Linked DNA regions of Homo sapiens: region 2 is linked to region 1. The links are contacts of gene promoters, found by promoter capture Hi-C in human tissues and cell types (Jung and others, 2019). All regions are on one chromosome and are shown on one strand. The core of a region is centred on a gene start or on the middle of the fragment in contact, and the rest is flanking DNA. Distances in the headings are between cores, read along the strand shown. Region 1 holds the start of RASSF4 (Ras association domain family member 4). Region 2 overlaps CSGALNACT2 (chondroitin sulfate N-acetylgalactosaminyltransferase 2).

The links. The method cuts DNA at HindIII sites, captures the fragments that hold promoters and counts their contacts. A contact is called where the count stands out against the background at its distance.
Region 2: a fragment that was not itself captured here is called in contact with the fragment with the promoter of RASSF4 in region 1 in 1 of the 25 tissues and cell types used here (dorsolateral prefrontal cortex).

Annotation. Positions count from the first base shown.
Region 1 is chr10:44,957,620-44,961,815 of GRCh38, reverse strand. It overlaps RASSF4 (Ras association domain family member 4), which reads right to left and starts at 2,014. Exons shown (of 11, transcript NM_032023.4): 1 at 1,950-2,014. TMEM72-AS1 (TMEM72 antisense RNA 1) reads left to right here and starts at 2,127. Exons shown (of 8, transcript NR_033842.1): 1 at 2,127-2,224. RefSeq lists a silencer at 2,044-2,263 and an enhancer at 2,041-2,335. The HindIII fragment of the contact is 12,479 bases long and covers 1-4,196 here.
Region 2 is chr10:43,163,046-43,167,532 of GRCh38, reverse strand. It overlaps CSGALNACT2 (chondroitin sulfate N-acetylgalactosaminyltransferase 2), which reads right to left. Exons shown (of 8, transcript NM_018590.5): 5 at 3,489-3,667; 6 at 435-529. Among named protein-coding and RNA genes, the nearest start is that of CSGALNACT2, 27 kb to the right of the region's middle. The HindIII fragment of the contact is 4,073 bases long and covers 1-3,345 here.

The sequences.
Region 1 (4,196 bases), core at 765-3,264:
GCTCTGGGTTTAAAGCTCTGCTCTGTGACTGCCTGGCTCTGTTACCTTAAGCAAGTCCAGTTCCCTCTCTGAACCTTGGGCTCCTCATCAATTAAATAACTATAATCCTCGATGACTTCTGTGAAGACGAATGAGGAGACCTGTAAGATGGGCCTTGTGTTGGGCTCACCCATAATGAAAAGAGGCTCCCATTACTATTCTTATTGACACTGGGAGTTGGGGGCTCTGGAGAGACTGTGGAGCCCCAGAGATGGGAATGTGAGGCCTGCCTGCAGGAGTGGCCATGAATGAGGAGAGAGTCTGAGCTGACACCTGAAACCAGGCCCCAGACCCCAGGGGCCCAGGGCAGAGGGCTTTCTGGCAGATCCCCTAGTTAGGTCTCCCCTTTGAGGCTTTGCACGTCCAGAATCTGAACTCTGACACACACCCAAGTTTCGTTCATGTTCTTTGTTATCTGTCATGGTCCACTTGGTCCTGACCCAGGGCGACCCTGGACCTTGATTCTGTTCTCGACCTCCAGGCTACCCACTGGAGCTTCATGGTGGAAATACAACCCAATCTCCTGAGTTTCAGACAGACACTTTAATCTGTAGCATCAACCTTTTTGTTGTCAAATCACCAGCACTACACACTGAGAGAATTATGGCTAGAACTAATGACAACAGCCTTCACATACACTGACAAAGTGCTGAAACAGCCCATGACAATTTCCGGCCAGCATTTTTTTAACCTAAGTTTAATGAGTTTCATCTCTCCTCTTCCCTCCCTTCCTCTTTCTCCTCTGACCCTCTCCCTTCCTGTCTTCTCCCCTAACCTGCTGTCCTGGCAGAAGTAGCTAAGGAACCACACAGAGGAACAGAAGGCAGGATGGTCTACATTTACCTGTTACTTCACCAATTCACTTCTAACTTAAAAAAAAATGGTTTCTGGCAACAAATCCTGATTGACACCTTAGTACTGTGGGCAGTTAAACTACAGCAAAGCCAGCGAGGGGCTCCTCTGTGAGTGCAAAGCATAGCTTTGGAGTCTAACCTGCTTGGGTTCAAATTCCAGAAGCCCAGCCCTTATTTGCTGTGCGACCTTATTTAATTCCTATGTGAAATGGGGCTCCTGAAGCTGTCCTTACTGTGTTTTAAGAAAGTGCTGGCCCTGGCCTGGGCACTGATTCTGGTGTGAGAGGAGGCCTCCCTCCCTCCGCCGTGCCAGGTTAATGAAAACACTGAGGCATGTTTTGGAAGTGGGAAGTGCAGGATGGGACCGGAGTCAGGAGCCCAGAAGAGCAGGGCAGCAGGCAGGCTGACCTTCGGAGACTAAGGGTGAAGAGCAAGAGACTCAGGGGCACAACAAGCCCTGGGTTCAAATCCTGGCTCCATCACCAACTCATCCGGTAAAGGTGGACAATTTTATAACTCTTTAAGCCTCAGTTTTCACATCTGAAAAGGGGATAACGAAAGTAGGACTCTCACTTGCTGTGAGGAGTAAGAGGCATATCGTGTTAAAGCACTTGGCCCAGAGCAAGGCGAGCCCTCTACAGACAGCGATTGTGAGACAGACCCCCCCTGCTGCTATTATCTTGGCGTTCGATTTCCATCAGTGAAATCAGAGTTGTGCCAGAGGCCTCTAGGCTCTCTCCCCAACTCTAGGATCAGTGCTTCTAGGAAACTGGTTAAGGACAAGGTGAACAAAAAAGGTGTAGCCAGTGGCCGGGCTCATCTGTCTTGCTCAGGTTGTAGCCCCTAAATTGCTTAACAGAGGTGCCAGGCGCAGTGCCCCCTCTCAGCAATGAGCCCGAGGCCCGCAATGCGCCAGGCTGGCGGGGGAGGGACCCTGCGCGCTGCGGCCGAAGGGCACAAGTGCCCAGGCTTCAGCGTCCCTGCCTGGTGGCAGTCCTGGGTCGGAGGGGATGCTCCATGGACGCCCAAGCACTCTCCTGCTCGTTCATCACTCACCGTCCAGTCATCGCGCAGTCCAGAAGCCACTGCATGTGTCGTGTCCTCGCTTGCACCGGAGCTGCGCCCGCAGCGCCTGCTGACCCCAGGCTTCAGCTGCTCGGGGCCAGGCCCGCCCCTCGCCCCGCCCCTCGCCCCTCGCCCCGCCCCGCTCCCCGCCTCTCGCCCGGCACGGCCAAAGGTGCCGCCCCGGTCTCTCCGTCCCGCCCCGAGCACGCCCCTCACTCCGCACCGGCCAATGGCACCGCCCCGTCCGCCCCGCTCTGGGAACGCCGGTAGGTTCCGGGTGCAGGGCGGTGGCCTAGGGGCGGCGGGGAAGATTTGGGGCCTGCGACCTGCCAGGTGTCCCCAGGCCATTGTTCAGCTCGCCGCGCGCTCCCGAGTTCCCGAGGGCGCCCCGGGACGCGAGGAGAAAGCAGCCCGACTCAGCCCCGAGAGGTTCGGTGTGCGGGCAGCGGCCAGGGACTTTGCGGGGTAGCGCGGACTCCTGGACTTCCAACAAGGGCCGCTGCGCAGGCGCTGCAATCACTGCAGGCACTTGTCTGCATGCCTGGTGGGGCTTGGAGTCTGGGGAGGCTTATCAGTAAAGCCCAGAGCATTTGCTATTTATTGCTCAAGGGGCACCTTTGTACAGTCTGGCCGTTTGCTTGGCATGGCCTCTTAGAACTCCTTATTGTTTAAGAAATCCGATCTGGTGAATAAGAAGTTAGTCTTTCTCTCCCAGTCACTGCCTCCTGGACGAATATTTGCCAGCACGGAGGCAGAGAGGACAGAAAACCACAAGCCATTTGGGGAACTGGGAACAGTTCAGTGTTTCTGGGGTGTGGGGGTGTCAAGGTGGGGGATGGGGTTGATGGAAAACATTTGCAATTTCTGCTTTACCTCACGATTCCCAGCTCTGACCTCTGGACCTGTTCTCTCCCACCCCTAACATAAATCATTTTAGTTTCATTCAGTGTGCGTTTCCTAATATTTTTAGGGTCTCATGGCCATTTTAGAATCTGATATGGATCTTCTAGAAAGTGCAGGTGGCCATATGCACCAAAATCAGCCTGGGATTTGAGTCTCATGGGTCCCTGAACTTCGACTTAGAGGGGCTGTGCTAATGCTTGTATGGCTGCTGTATGACTTATGTTGGAACCCCCACCTGCAAAAAGTGACAGGACTGAAGATACCCAGTCCAGGGGCCCTCCCGTTTCTGCGTTTGCTTGAATTTTTGGAGAATGGCCCATCCTTTGACAGCTCTGAGGCTCCCTGTGGTTGGTGACTTGTCATGACACATTTGCTCTTCCACAGCCCTCATCAAAGCTGAGACAAATAATCGGGTGCTTCCAAAGGTTTTTTAAAAGTGGGTAAAATTCAATATAACTGTCAACCTCTGAGCATGAGATCCTAAGAATTTAATCACTCCTGATAGGAGAAGTAAACATAGCACCAGGGTGACATAACAGTTTCCCTGGGCTCTCCAGAACTCGAGTGTGAATCATTCTCTCTGACCTAATTAATGCTGTTCACAGGGCCATGACTGGCTCTGAGTGAGGACTGGGTTTGGGACAGCAACCCCATGTGTCCTGTGCACCCATTGTGGGCTCAGACACTATGCTAGTGCTTTACATTGGGGATCCCATGCAATTCCCCCAGCACTCCTGGGCAGTTGGTGTTACTGCTTGCATTTTTTAAAATTTCCATTTTTATTTTAAATTTAGGGGATACACGTGCGGGTTTGTTACAATTGTACATTGTGTGGTACTGAGGTTTGGGATTGATCCTGTCACCCAGATGGTGAGCATAGTACCCAATAGGAAGTTTTTCACCCCTCGCCCCGCTGTCTCCCTCCCACTTTTGAAGTCCCCAGTGTCTATTGTTTTTATCTTTATGTCTAGGTGAACCCGATATTTAGCTCTTTTGCTTGTAAGCGAGAACATGTGGTGTTTGCTTTTCTATTTCTGCATTAGTTCGCTTAGGATAATGGCATCCAGCCACATCCATCCTGCTGCAAAGGACACGATTTTATTCTCTTTTATGGCTGTGAGTGCTTGCATTTTACATCAGACACAGGTGTCCATTGTCAGCGTCCTCCCCTCAGAAGGGGAGGGTCCATTGTCAGACCCCTCAGAAGGAGGGGTCACCTTTTCTTTCAGGGTTCAGTAGAACTGGGTGTGGTCTCCAGCTCACTTATGGTGGAGGCTACAGATACTGTTGGTTGCCAGCCAATGTCCATTTCCTTCTTTGGAAAAAAGAAAGATA
Region 2 (4,487 bases), core at 60-2,559, 1.8 Mb after region 1:
CTGTAAGTTTTGATATATGGCATTTATATTCTATGACTTTCCAGGTAATTTACCAGAGTATACTATTCCCTCTTATTTAGCAGAGTAGATTTAATTTCTAGTTAGTAGGGTTTTTAAAATCAAATTTTTAGTATTAGTAAAAATAAGCTGGTAGAAATGACTGTACAATTTCCACATTCTGGGACATGAGGTTTTCCTTTATGACCTAAACTCTGCTCCCCCTACACTTAATTCTGAAGCAATAAATGTGAAAAGCATCTTATTGGGGGTATAAAGAGGAACTATGGAAATGTGCTTACAATAACTATAGTTTTTCTTTAACACTTTGCTCATGGAAATACAGTTTTTTATTGAAACTTTGTTTTCTACTTACACAACAAACATCTAGAAAAGATCTTTAGAGTCTTTCATAACTGAAAATGTGAAAGTCTCACCAGCTGCTGCTCCACAGGTGGTGGCACTTCCTGGTTGGCATAAACAATGGCAGGATTGTAAAGACTGAACACCACAGGGTAAAACACCTTCTTACCTACAAATTAAAATATAGGTTTGTAACATAAAAAGAAGTTATGAAGAACTGTTCTTTATTGCAATATCTATTAAGTTTTATCAAAGTCTTATTATACATGATTTTATCTATTTTTTAATATTCAGGCTACAGAACATCATGTTAATTTGATGAATATGATGATTTTGTAACATATCAGTAGGTTAACTATAACCTTGCAAAAGAACAGAGGAAAAAACAAACTAAAGGGTGCTTCACGTTTATTCCCTTTGACTTTGGGGAGATGTGTATTCATTACGTGAGTCATTTATTACTCATTGTTTCATCTAATCAGTAGTAATAAACGTAGATTAACCTCTGATAATCACTATGAAACTTAGAAACGTCTGTTAAATCCACCTGTCAAAAATGAATCATTAGAAAGAGTAAATTCAAAGAATACTGTACAATGAATAGATATGCAGAGAATAATGAAAATATAGAATAAATCTGAACCAAAATCTGGAAAAGTCGGGAAGACAAGGGTTAAAATTACTTGATATAATAGCCCTTGGAGAAGACCTTGTCATCAGCATTCAAACTGACTGATCTAAAAGGACCATAAAGGCTAACTAGCCCATCTTCCCTCAGGAGACGCAACCCTTGCTATGGCTGGCTTCAATCAGATATGATCACATGAAGTGTTCAGTGATTGTCAGGAAGTGTGGGAGTAACATGGCAACCTTTTTATTACAAGATCCCTAGCAGATGCTCATTCTACCTTTGTTCAAATACATTTAGGGATGGGGAGTTCAATTTTCCAGAGGCAAATCTATTTCTGGATATAAAATATTTCTTTTAAACTAAGCAAATACGTCTCCTTCAACTTTCACATTTTGCATTTCATGCTGTAAAATAAACCTAACCTTCATTTATTCATTAGGTTCTCAAAGAGTTCCTGAAAACTATCTCTAACCTAATTAATAAGAAGGCAATCATTTGCATATGAATAGTTCTACATTAAAAAAACCCCATTTGCTATTAGATTCTTTAAAACATTTTTATTTTTATTTTTTAAGACGGAGTCTTGCTCTGTCACCCAGGCTGGCGATCTCAGCTCATTGCAACCTCCGTCTCCCAGGTTCAAGCAATTCTTCTGCCTCAGCCTCGCAAGTAGCTGGGATTACAGGAACAAGCCACCACGCCTGGCTAATTTTTAGTAGAGATGGGGTTTCACCATGTTGGCCAGGCTGGTATCGAACTCCCGACTGAGGTGATCCGCCTGCCTCGGCCTCCCAAAGTGCTGGGATTACAGGCATGAACCACCACGCCCAGCCTCTTTAATACTTTTAATTCTTTTAAATGAGCTAAAAAGCATTCAGCCACCATGCCTGGCCAAAAATTTTATTTTTAAAGACTAGGACTCACTATGTTGCCCAGGCTGGTCTTGAACTCCTGCACTCAAGTGCTCCTCCTGTCTCAGACTCCCAAGGTGCTGGGATTAAGGTGTGAGCTACTGTGCTCAGCAGCACCCCCCCACCCCAATGTTTTTCTAATTGACTAATAAAAATGGTGTACAACATTATGTTTTGCTACATTCATACACTACGAAATGACTAAATCAAGCTAATAAACATATATCATCACCTCACATAATTAACCTTTTTTTTTTTTGGTGGTAAGAACATTTTTTAATGCTACTACTGGCTTAGCAATTTGTAAGTATACAATACATTGTTATTAACTATAGTCACCATGTTTGTATAACAGATTTCCTCAACTTACTCATCCTGTTGAGATTCTTTAATACTTTTTTTTTTTGAGACAGAATGTCGCCCTGTCGCCCAGGCTGCAGTGCAGTGGCGCAATCTCAGCTCACTGCAAGCTCCGCCTCCTGGGCTCACGCCATTCTCCTGCCTCAGTCTCCTGAGGAGCTAGGACTACAGGCACCCACCACCACGACCGGATAATTTTTTTTGTATTTTTAGTAGAGACGGGGTTTCACTGTGTTAGCCAGGATGGTCTCCATCTCTTGACCTCGTGATCCGCCCGCCTCGGCCTCCCAAAGTGCTGGGATTACAGGCATGAGCCACCACCCCCAGCCTCTTTAATACTTTTAATTCTTTTAAATGAACTAAAAAGCATTTAAAATTTGATTTCAAAAAATGTCATCTTCTCATTAATTTTTTTTTTTTTTTTTGAGATGGAGTCTCACTCTGTCACCAGGCTGGAGTGCAGTGGCATGATCTTGGCTTACTGCAACCTTTGCCTCCCAGGTTCAAGCAATTCTTCTGCCTCAGCCACCCGAGTAGCTAGGACTACAGGCGTACGCCACCATGCCCAGCTAATTTTTGTATTTTTAGTAGAGACGGGATTTCACCATGTTGGCCAGGATGGTCTCAATCTCTTGACCTCATGATCCACCCGCCTAAGCCTCCCGAAGTACTGAGATTATAGGCGTGAGCCCCTGCACCTGGCTATCTCATTAATTTTCAAAAAATATCTACAACTTAAAGCAAAGTATAGTAAATCATCCCAAAATGCACAGTCTGGAGACCAAGCACTATCTGCATCTAGACTTCCATGTGAGTGTGTGTGCACACATGCATGGGGGTATTTTTGCATGTGTGGACGCTATATGCCCAAAGCTGAGTGCTTCAGACTCTCACACACATCTCCATACCATCTGCTTAGCTCTTTTTCTGACCTGCACTGCTCCCACCTCATCAATTTGTAGATACCCTGTTCCTCTGCATTTCCATATTTGGCTTCAAATGTAGTCACTGGAAGTTGGACCCAAGAGAACAAAGGATATGAATTTCAAAGGGTCAAATTTTCAATTTCCTATTTAGTATTCCAGTTAAATTATGCCTAATATAACTTAAAAAAATACTGGGGTTTAACTAAAACTTCTCCCTCAAAATCACTTGATTCAAACTATAGGACATGCTGACAACGTTCTAAATTCTATAGTCAGCTCATCTACCAACATTTTACGCACCTGGCTCAGCATTTAACCGGCAGCTGTTAAGGAATTCGGCTGAGAAATAGATATCAACATCACAGAAAAACATCAAGACCTCTCCCTTGTCCCAAGCTCGGGCACCCACATTTAGTCCTCGTCCACGATTAAATTCTTCATTCAATGAGACCAAGGTGTAATTGTGAAAATTAGACTCACTATGAGGAAAGCACACACAACAAATGATAAGTCCCACTTAAAGTTACCAATTTTCTTCCTTCAACACAGCTTACAAAATATGTTTTACACTTCAAATATTTGATTATATTGGTTCTACATTCACAAAGGGAAAGAAAATCCCAGCTTCATGTGTATGATTATCATCAGGGAGAGATATTCACCAAATGCCCAATTTGAGGCACATGTTGGTGGTATGAGGCTCCAAAAGTGTTAAAGTGGCCACTGACCTTTGGAATCTTAAACACCTTTTGGGGAGTTGAAAAATACACAAATGGAAAAATAGCTGTAATGTCTGTTAATAATGCATTCTAAATGGATAACACACACAAAGATCACTCTCCTCTTGCATCCGTTAGGTCTTTGCACACATGTCGCCTTATCAGAGGGATCCTCCCTAATACTACTTGAGAAGCAGCTGCCACCTCCCACTCCTTCATCTCCATCCTCTTCCTCAGCTGTTTTCCTTCATATTGCTAGACATATTTGTTCCAGTGTCTCTCCCACTCTGTGGGAGCAGGGATTTTGTTTTGTTCATTACTATGGATGCAGTGTCCCCTGATAGAGTAGGAGTTCAATAAATATTTGCTGAATGAATGAATGAACAGCAGTTCTGAAAAATACATCGCTCATGTCTGGAGTAGTTAGAGAAGATGTTAGAAGTGGAACGTGAGTTATGCCTTGGTTAAAATGTTGAATTCAGTGGTGAGTGTAAAGGTCATTCAAAATAATTATTCTCAAAGGCAAAGAGGTAAGAATGTAGAAAGCATTTTAGAGAAAAGGGATCAGACAAATCAGATT